Regions from separate parts of the Homo sapiens genome. Here all the other regions are linked to region 3. Evidence: promoter capture Hi-C in 16 types of primary human blood cells and fetal thymus (Javierre and others, 2016). All regions are on one chromosome and are shown on one strand. The core of a region is centred on a gene start or on the middle of the fragment in contact, and the rest is flanking DNA. Distances in the headings are between cores, read along the strand shown.

Region 1 (2,866 bases), core at 1-2,500, 2.4 Mb before region 3:
TTGTTTTTTTGTTTTGCTTTTTTTTTTTTTTTGAAACAGGGTCTCGCTCTGCCACCCAGGCTGGAGTGCAGTGGCACAATCATAGCTCACTGCAGCCTCGACTTCTTGGGCTCAAGAGATCCTCCCACCTTAGCCTGTCGAGCAGCTGGGACTACAGGCATGCGCCACCACGCCCGGCTAATTTTTTTGATATTTAATAGAGATGAGGTCTTGCTATGTTGCCCAGGATGTTCTAACTCCTCAAGTGATCCTCCTGCCTCAGCCTCCCAAAGTGCTGGGGTTACAGGCGTGAGCCACCGTGCCCAGCACATGTCTTCTAAAAGCTGCTGTTTCTTCCTTTTTCAGGAGTTCTTTCCCATACTGTTCTTCTGGATGACTCCTCGTCATCCTTCGGATCTCAAATGAAAGGTCATTTAGAGAGGCTTGGCCTGACCATACAATTCAATTAGTTTCTTACCCCTTTAGTCTCTCTCATAGACCCTGTTATTTTCCTTCATCTCATTTATCACAAGTCTTCATATATTTATTGCGTTGGATACATTCAATTCTGTCGATTTTCTTAGAATGTAAGGTTTCCAAGGGAAGGGACTTCGTTTTGTTCACTTTTGTATTCCTAGAACCTAGCACAATGCCTGACACATAGCAGGTGTTCCATAAATATCTGCGGACTGACTGTCTATTTCACTTATCCTTGTTCCTTGTACTGCATTTCAGTTCTCGCTACTGCAGTGTAACCTCCAAGAGACAGGAGAAAATCATAATACCCCCCTCCCTCCATCACTGAGTGATACTGAGACGGCGTCCTTGCACGTTTGAGCAGCTGCTGCCTTCTCCTGGGAGGCTGTCAAGTACCCCAAGGTGCACAATAATTCTTTTAGTAATTGCCTGACTGAGGCAAATCAGTAGAGCTGTCAGAAATGCTTTCAAACTTAACATTCATTGGGTTCTTGGGCACCTGAAATTGCAAACAATTGCATTACAATTAAGTGAGAATTAGCAGAATGTTACAGTTCTTTAACAATTTGCGTAACAAACCGAGGCGTCCTACGCCATCTCGCTGAAATGAAATTCGGATGTAGACACCCTTGCGCTTCAGGACTCTACGCTCTTGCAGCAGCTCCTCTGCCCAATGGGGGGCGGCAGCATCTCAGTAACTCACTCGAAAGACGGGTAGGCGGGAGGAGACATTCGCGTTCAAAATCTTTTTGCCTCTATCCGCTCGCCGTAGCGCTTTAGCCCGCTCGAGTTTCAATGCGCGTTGTTGCTTAACGAAGCAGAGTCCTACACACTGTCTGCTGCTCTCCTGATCATGGCTTCTCCGAGTTCTTTCACCTACTATTGCCCTCCATCTTCCTCCCCCGTCTGGTCAGAGCCGCTGTACAGTCTGAGGCCCGAGCACGCGCGAGAGCGGTTGCAGGACGACTCGGTGGAAACAGTCACGTCCATAGAACAGGTGAGGTGGCAGGACTGGGCGAGGCGCCCGCGCGATGTGTTCTGGGAGCGCGAGTCCCGTTCGTAGGGCCGCCCGGGTGCGGAACTCACCGGGGAACTACGACTCCCACAGCGCACCGCGGTGCCTTTCCTCTGGGAAGCTCCGGGCGCCCAGGCTTGGGCTTCGTCGTGGAGCGTTTGCGCGGCCAGCTTGGGGAAGGGTCGTTTCAAGGTTGGGCTTGGAGGAGAGGGCAGTAGCCGAGTCCCCTCTGCCCTAAAGAACGAGAAGAATCGTGTTCTATGCCTGGAGGACAGAGGCAGCCCGTGCGGGTCGGACAGCCCACTCTGTTCTGCCAGTACTTCGGGAGGTTCTGGGGTGCATAGTGCACTTTTCCCAACCTGCCCTCAGCTTCTGGAGGCAGAGAGCAGGGCCAGGCTGCTGTCATGCCGTTTCACGATCTGTTTAATTTTTGACCTACAGTGCCAGGTTTGGGGGCCCGCCTCGTGGGTGGGCATTTTGGTAGTCATTCAGCCATTTGAGCACCAGCTACGTGTCGGACACAATATTAAACGATGGAAGTACAAGGAAATAAAACAGCTCCTGACCAGGAGCCTGGTTGGGGGACAGGCAGGAAAACAGTTTGGAAAGTGATCTAATAGAAAGAATGGATTTTGGACTACTAATCATTCCCTAAGGCCTAGAAGTAGGATCGAACCTATCATTTTGAAAAGTGTTTGGCGAATGAGTATATATTCATATGCCCAAAACCATAGTTTTGTTTTTCTTCTTATTCCCTAATTGGAATTGTTCCCAAGGTTGCTATGTGGAACTGTTTATCCATCTGTCCCTAGGAGAAGTGGTTAGGATAATTCTTAACACTAATAAATGAACATTCTGCTGCTTACTGAAATAAGATCTCTTAGTGAGATCAGTCTCCAGGCTTTACCTTGGAGAGACCTGTTTTGTATTTCCTACTTTAAGTTGGAAGCCTGTACTTTGGCAAAATTAGTAACAATAATTGTTTTATTGTACAGTTATGACTAAATAGAATTATAAATTTATAACAGAAACAAGGGCTTGATACGTGGTTATTCACAAAGTAGCAGAGAAAATATTTTAACTGGAGATTTAAACTTCATGGAATTTAGGGTAGCAAAGGAAATCCTCACCTCTCGAATCTAGCTAATTCTCCAGGTTGGTTTGCCTACCAGTGTGTCCCAGGGAAGGCTGACTGCAAAAGATTGTAAAGAAATTTCCCATTGATGAAAAACCTACAGGATCTTTGCAGAATTCCTAAATGATGGATTGCTGAGTTGATTCAGGTCAAGTGTTTTACTTATTATCTGACCTTAGACTATGGGATTGCCTTTTTTTTTTTTTTTTTTTTTGAGATGGGGTCTCGCCCTGTTGCCAGGCTGGGATGCACTGGCTTAC
Region 2 (2,700 bases), core at 83-2,582, 3.0 Mb after region 3:
CGAATTTGCTAAAAACAACAATTTTTTTTTTTTTTTTTTTTTTTGGAGAGACAGAGGTCTTGCTGGTTTGGAACTCCTGACCTAAAGCGATCCTCCTGTCTTGGCTTCCCCTAACACTGGGATTACAGGTGTGAGCCATCGTGCTTGGCCCAGATACTTCAAATGGGTGAATCTTTTGGAGATTCCTAAAATCCACATTTGATGAATGTGGATTTTTCAAAACTGTGTAAAATATCCATTACCTTTCTAAGATCACTTCTTTCCTTTAGTCTGCTTAAATGGAAAAGCTGGTAATTTCATCTGCGCCAACATTCATACAAAATAAAAATATAGTCTGTATTTAAAAGCAGCTTTTGTTCATATGCTTTAATTATTTCATTTACTAACACATCAAGGCTTGCTGAAGCAAAATAACTGGCCCGTAATCAAAAAGCAAATAAGAGTCATCTGGATTTCAACTCTGGTTGTCTTAAGCCAGCCTCAGCCTGCATTTCATGACATCCTTAGGGAACTCAGTGTGGATATGGATGAAACCATATAAACACGGAAGCTGTTTTCAACGTGCTTTAGAAATTATAACACAGCAATCATTCTGGCTACAATGTGGCAGGCACCGTACTCAACACTTTATTCACAAGGTGTTATTAGTTCATCACAACTCTAAGTATTAAGCTAATTCACAAACTAGAAAGATGAAACAGAAAGATACCAGGAATTCGTGCAGTTAAATGGAATACATCTAGTCCCAATGATCCACAGTATCGTCAAAACATAGCTAAGTTGGGGGCGAGGAAGCAAGCTTAGTAATCATCCAAACTTGGCTTAAAGTGTGGTTCTGACTGAATTCTCTGAGCTTCAATTTACTTAACTGTGAATCAAGGGTAGTAACAATGACCGCGTTCGACGATGGGAAAGACGCCACGCTCACAAGCAGACAGATCCTAGTACACCTGAAATCCAACCGGGAGTGGGGGACAGCGGCGGGGAAGTGGGGGTGTGGAAAAGACTGGTGGAAGAGCTTTTAGGAAAGCTCTCACCCCGTCGCTAGCTCCTTCCTAGCCCGAGTGCCAGCCCTTAACTTCACATTTTACAGATTCCCTCCCAGGTCTTGATCCTGCCAAGGAGGAGGGTCCCACCCCTTGCGGAAGATCCTCCTCACTCCACTCACCAACATGGGGACTCCATAGCCGAGAGTCTTGTTCTTGCGAAAAGCACGCATCACCGCGGGTGCAAACATGAGTGAACTCTTCCATCGGCTCAGAACTCCAAGCGGGCCTAGCGCAGACTCCCAAATCTCAGCAGCTCACGCTCTCACCAAGACGAGTACGTCCTTAACTCACTTCCTTTTCCTTGGTTATTTGGTGCTCGGTCCTTAGTGAATGGTTTCCGCTAGGCAAAAGCAATCGAGCCATCGTAACATACTTGTGCGTCCGCCCAGAAATGTGGGCGTCAGCGTTTTTGGTTCCGTAACGTCGGCGTGCAATTGGGATTTAGAGATTTGAATCGGTTTACGATCACCACCAAATTGATCTGGAAACCAGTACTTCCCACGTTCTGGGTCCTAACTAACGTCTGCTTAGAACACTCCCTTAGGCACATAGCCACTCGATAAAATCAGCTAAGGAAAAAAGTATTTTGAGGCCGGGCGCGGTGGCCTGGGTGGGTGGCCTGTAATCCCAGCACTTTGGGAGGCCGAGGCCGGTAGATCACCTGAGGTCAGGAGTTCTAGATCAGCCTGGTCAACATGGTAAAACCCCGTCTCTATTAAAAAAAAAAAATACAAAAATTAGCCGGGCGTGGTGGCAGGCGCCTGTAATCCCAGCTACTGGGGGGCCGAGGCAGGAGAATCGCTTGAACCCGGGAGGCGGAGGTTGCAATGAGCAGAGATCGCGCCATCGCACTCCAGCCTGGGGAACAAGAGCGAGACTTCGTCTCAAAAAGAAAAAAGAAAAAAAAGTATTTTGAAGCTGGTACTCCAGTCTTTATGGCTATTTGTGGGATGAGGAATTTGCCAGTTTAATGGAGACTTTTAAAAATAAATCGCTTTTGAAAGATTAGGTTGAAATGTAATCAGTGTAGTGTCTCATCAGTCATTACTGAACTTTTAATGCTAATGATTTTACTGTGAGATAACCTGTAATCTTTAGTCATTTATGAATGTCTATTTACCAATGATTCAGCAACCATACAGGCCACCTTTCAGCGTGTCTTTGAAAGGGTTCTAGGAACACAGATAAAAATATATGATCCTTACCTTAAAGACACTGGCGATTTCATGGGCACAGAAACAAACATGTGTGAAGTACTGGGATAGCTTAGGAAGCCGATCCCCCACGTGTCCCATTTACCAGAGTGAATCAGAGTGCAGGTGATGCGGAATATTATCTTCCATGCTATTCCTGAAATATTTCCATCTGTCCCTGCCTCTCTGTTACCACTGAAATGTTCCTTTTTTTAATTCCTTATCATCTTTTCACCTATTAAAGTAGCCTCTTAAGTGGTCTCCAGAAGAGAAGCTCCAGATCTACTGCAGGCTACTCCAGTGAAACTTATCCTTTTGGCTAAGATCAAGTGTAGTATCTGTTCTTAACAGTTTAATATTTGACACATTCTCTATCCAAGGAAAATATGTTAAATGGGTTTTTGAAGCAAGGAGATGGAATAGGAGTTTGCTCCACCACTCTACACATCAACCTGTAT
Region 3 (2,700 bases), core at 179-2,678:
TTTCCAGGCTTGAGAATTCCATCTTTTCTTCCGCCCCAACAGCTCTACCAAAAATTTCCCCTGCGTCTCAGTGGAAACCAAACTGGCCTCTTACCTGAGAAACCTGTGGGACGGGCACCGTGTTGGAAAGAGCGGGGTCCGAGTAGTTTTTCATCTGATAATTGAATGAGTCACCCCTTGAACCAAAACTAAATGAGACTTGAGTTTATTACTGTTACTATCAGTTTGTCGTATTTTGGCGACAATGAGAATAGAACTGTGTTAAGCATATGTTAGGTTAACTATGTTAGTTAAGCATAACTAAAACCTAAGATAAGGATATATTTTCGGGTTAAATACACAGTCATGCTGAGGTCTCTTTATCCTCAAAACTTAGGCTTTTTAAATTTTTATTAAGCAAAAAACATGGTTTCTTCGAGAAAAAGTATAGCAGAGAAGTCTTTATTTCCCCTCAATTGAGTTGTTATTCAAGGAACAATCTCTGTCAATAGTTTGGGGGTGACTTGTACAGAACTTTGCTACCTATTCTTAGTTCATCTGGTGCCAAAAGATGTAGTTGTCTCATGCACAGTAATGTTTGTAGAGATTCGGTGATAACTTTCTTTTTCAACTATAATGATGAAATAAAAGCTTTACTTATGTAGCACTCCTATACCAAGAACTAGCATTCAGAGAGCATTCCTAATACGTGTTAGATCCAAATTAGAATTATCACGAGAGTTGTCCCCATCACATAATATATTTTGGAAAGGAATGTGAACTTCTATATCCATTATAGCAGTTTGACCATGCACTGTTTTGAGAAAGAAGTCCTACCTACCATTTGTCATGCAAAATAACTGACTATGCAGGGTATTTGAAATTAGCCTGGAGTTTGGTTGATATATTTTGAAAGGTGGCTGATACTTTTTACATCAGAACACATAAGAGTATTATAGCATGTTGTGATATTGAGGTTCTGTGGGTTAAAGACATTCTGGATTTGATGTCGGATTACTTGAGTTTAGCTCCTACGCTAGTACTTATTAAGCATTTGTTCTTAAGGAAGTATTATAATTTAGTATTTCTGTTCCACCTTTCCTGTTCATTGCTTCACTGTGCCCTTTCATAGTACTTTGTATTGTAATTATTTGCTTGCTAGTTTGTTTCCCACTCTATACTTAATTACTTAGGTAAGAGTCTTTTTTTTTTTTCTTTTTTCTTTTTTCTTTTTTTTTTTGAGACAGAGTCTCTGTTGCCCAGGCTGGAGTGTAGTGGCACGATCTCAGCTCACTGTAGCCTCTGCCCCTGGGTTCAAGGGATTCTCCTGCCTCAGCCACTATAGTAGTGGGATTACAGGTGCCTGCCACCACACCCAGCTAATTTTGGTATTTTTAGTAGAAATGGGGTTTCACCATGTTGACCAGGCTGGCCTCGAACTCCTGGTTTCAAGTGATCCACCCGCCTCGGCCTCCCAAAGTGCTGGGATTACAGGTGTGAGCCACTGCGCCTGGCCTGGTAAGAGTCTTTCTTGTTGTATCATTAGTGCTTAGTACATAGTAGCTACTGAAAAAAAAATTAACAAATTATTATATTACAAAATGGAAATACCTTCTTTTTCTTTCAATATTTTATGTTTGACTAGCACATAATGGTTTTCAAAATGTTTTTACGTATACATGTGATACCCTCAGTAAACCTGTGATGTACATGGCACAGATGAGAAACTACAGTTCAAAGGATGTTATCTTTCCCAAGCAGCCACTTCTAGTAAGTAGCAGAGCAAGGACTGGAACACAAGGCTAGAGTTGTTCCCCGAGTTTACTATGTTAATTGCCTGATTTGACACTTCTTGAGGACCAAATAAAATAAGAATGCTGTGAAAAAGATAAAGAGGTGAAGTCACCTAGTGTGACTTCGATATTGCGGAATGATTTTTTTAAGTTAAAAAAAAAATTTAAGTTATTAGCATTTCATTAGGCAATATGTTCAAAAATTGTCAACCAATATGCAGGTTTTTGTGGTATGGATTCTTTTTGTACTTAACTACTATCTATCTTTACTATGAATAACATACCATCAACAGTATTCCTTTACTTACCCTTTATGTTGCAAAGAGACTTGTGCCTCCTGAAGAAATAGTATTCATAGTCATATCCCTTCAGGATTCTCTTACATGATTGCCCATGTTTTTTAACCATCAAATTAAGCCTTGCTTCCCCTAAAAGCATCACCTTTACTGTTTGGAGAAGCTTGGTAAGTAAATGTGGTTTTCACTGGTCAAATGTCTTGCAACTGTTCCATACATTTCTGTAACATAGTTTATTTTTATGCCCAATTTGAAACTTTTTAGCTCTCAAATTTGAGAGCTTTACATACACATATTCAACAACAGTTTCCCCACCCCCACCCTCGAAAAGCCCTGTTTAAAAACGAAACAAACAGTCAGCTGTTTCTTGGTGGGTAAGGCCATTGAATGTCTACTTCTCTTTATTTGCTAAATCCCTATTTTGTAGGGATTTTGTATTCCCTACAAAGAAATACATCTCTGCTACTGTCATTAATATGCTGCTCTTTGTTGTCAAACAGATGAGTACTAATAGTTTGCACTTATTGGTGTTATGTACTCTGGCACTGAATATATATTAATGTTGCTTTTTAAGTAAAATGTTTCTAATTATAATATATTTATGAATAGTTTTGAGAGAATATAGTCTTACT

The links. The method cuts DNA at HindIII sites, captures the fragments that hold promoters and counts their contacts. A CHiCAGO score of 5 or more calls a contact.
Region 1: a contact is called between the fragment with the promoter of FNTB here and a fragment that was not itself captured in region 3, in 1 of 17 cell types (M2 macrophages). The highest score is 5.2, in M2 macrophages.
Region 2: the fragment with the promoter of COX16 here is called in contact with a fragment that was not itself captured in region 3 in 3 of 17 cell types (non-activated CD4 T cells, total CD4 T cells and naive CD8 T cells); the score reaches 5.6 in non-activated CD4 T cells.

The regions. Positions count from the first base shown.
Region 1 is chr14:64,985,645-64,988,510 of GRCh38, forward strand. FNTB (farnesyltransferase, CAAX box, subunit beta) reads left to right here and starts at 1,251. Exons shown (of 12, transcript NM_002028.4): 1 at 1,251-1,453. The coding sequence starts at 1,310. The region is part of intron 3 of CHURC1-FNTB (CHURC1-FNTB readthrough); the gene reads left to right. It overlaps LOC107984655 (a long non-coding RNA gene), which reads right to left and starts at 1,469. Exons shown (of 2, transcript XR_001750792.2): 1 at 1,036-1,469; 2 at 1-955. The HindIII fragment of the contact is 3,816 bases long and covers 1-2,866 here.
Region 2 is chr14:70,358,351-70,361,050 of GRCh38, forward strand. It overlaps COX16 (cytochrome c oxidase assembly factor COX16), which reads right to left and starts at 1,333. Exons shown (of 4, transcript NM_016468.7): 1 at 1,169-1,333. The coding sequence starts at 1,237. All of the region lies in intron 3 of SYNJ2BP-COX16 (SYNJ2BP-COX16 readthrough), which reads right to left. It also overlaps the pseudogene RNU2-51P. RefSeq lists enhancers at 1,053-1,362, 1,823-1,912. The HindIII fragment of the contact is 4,146 bases long and covers 798-2,700 here.
Region 3 is chr14:67,360,825-67,363,524 of GRCh38, forward strand. All of the region lies in intron 1 of EIF2S1 (eukaryotic translation initiation factor 2 subunit alpha), which reads left to right. It also overlaps a transcript of GPHN not described here. Among named protein-coding and RNA genes, the nearest start is that of EIF2S1, 1.8 kb to the left of the region's middle. The HindIII fragment of the contact is 1,601 bases long and covers 629-2,229 here.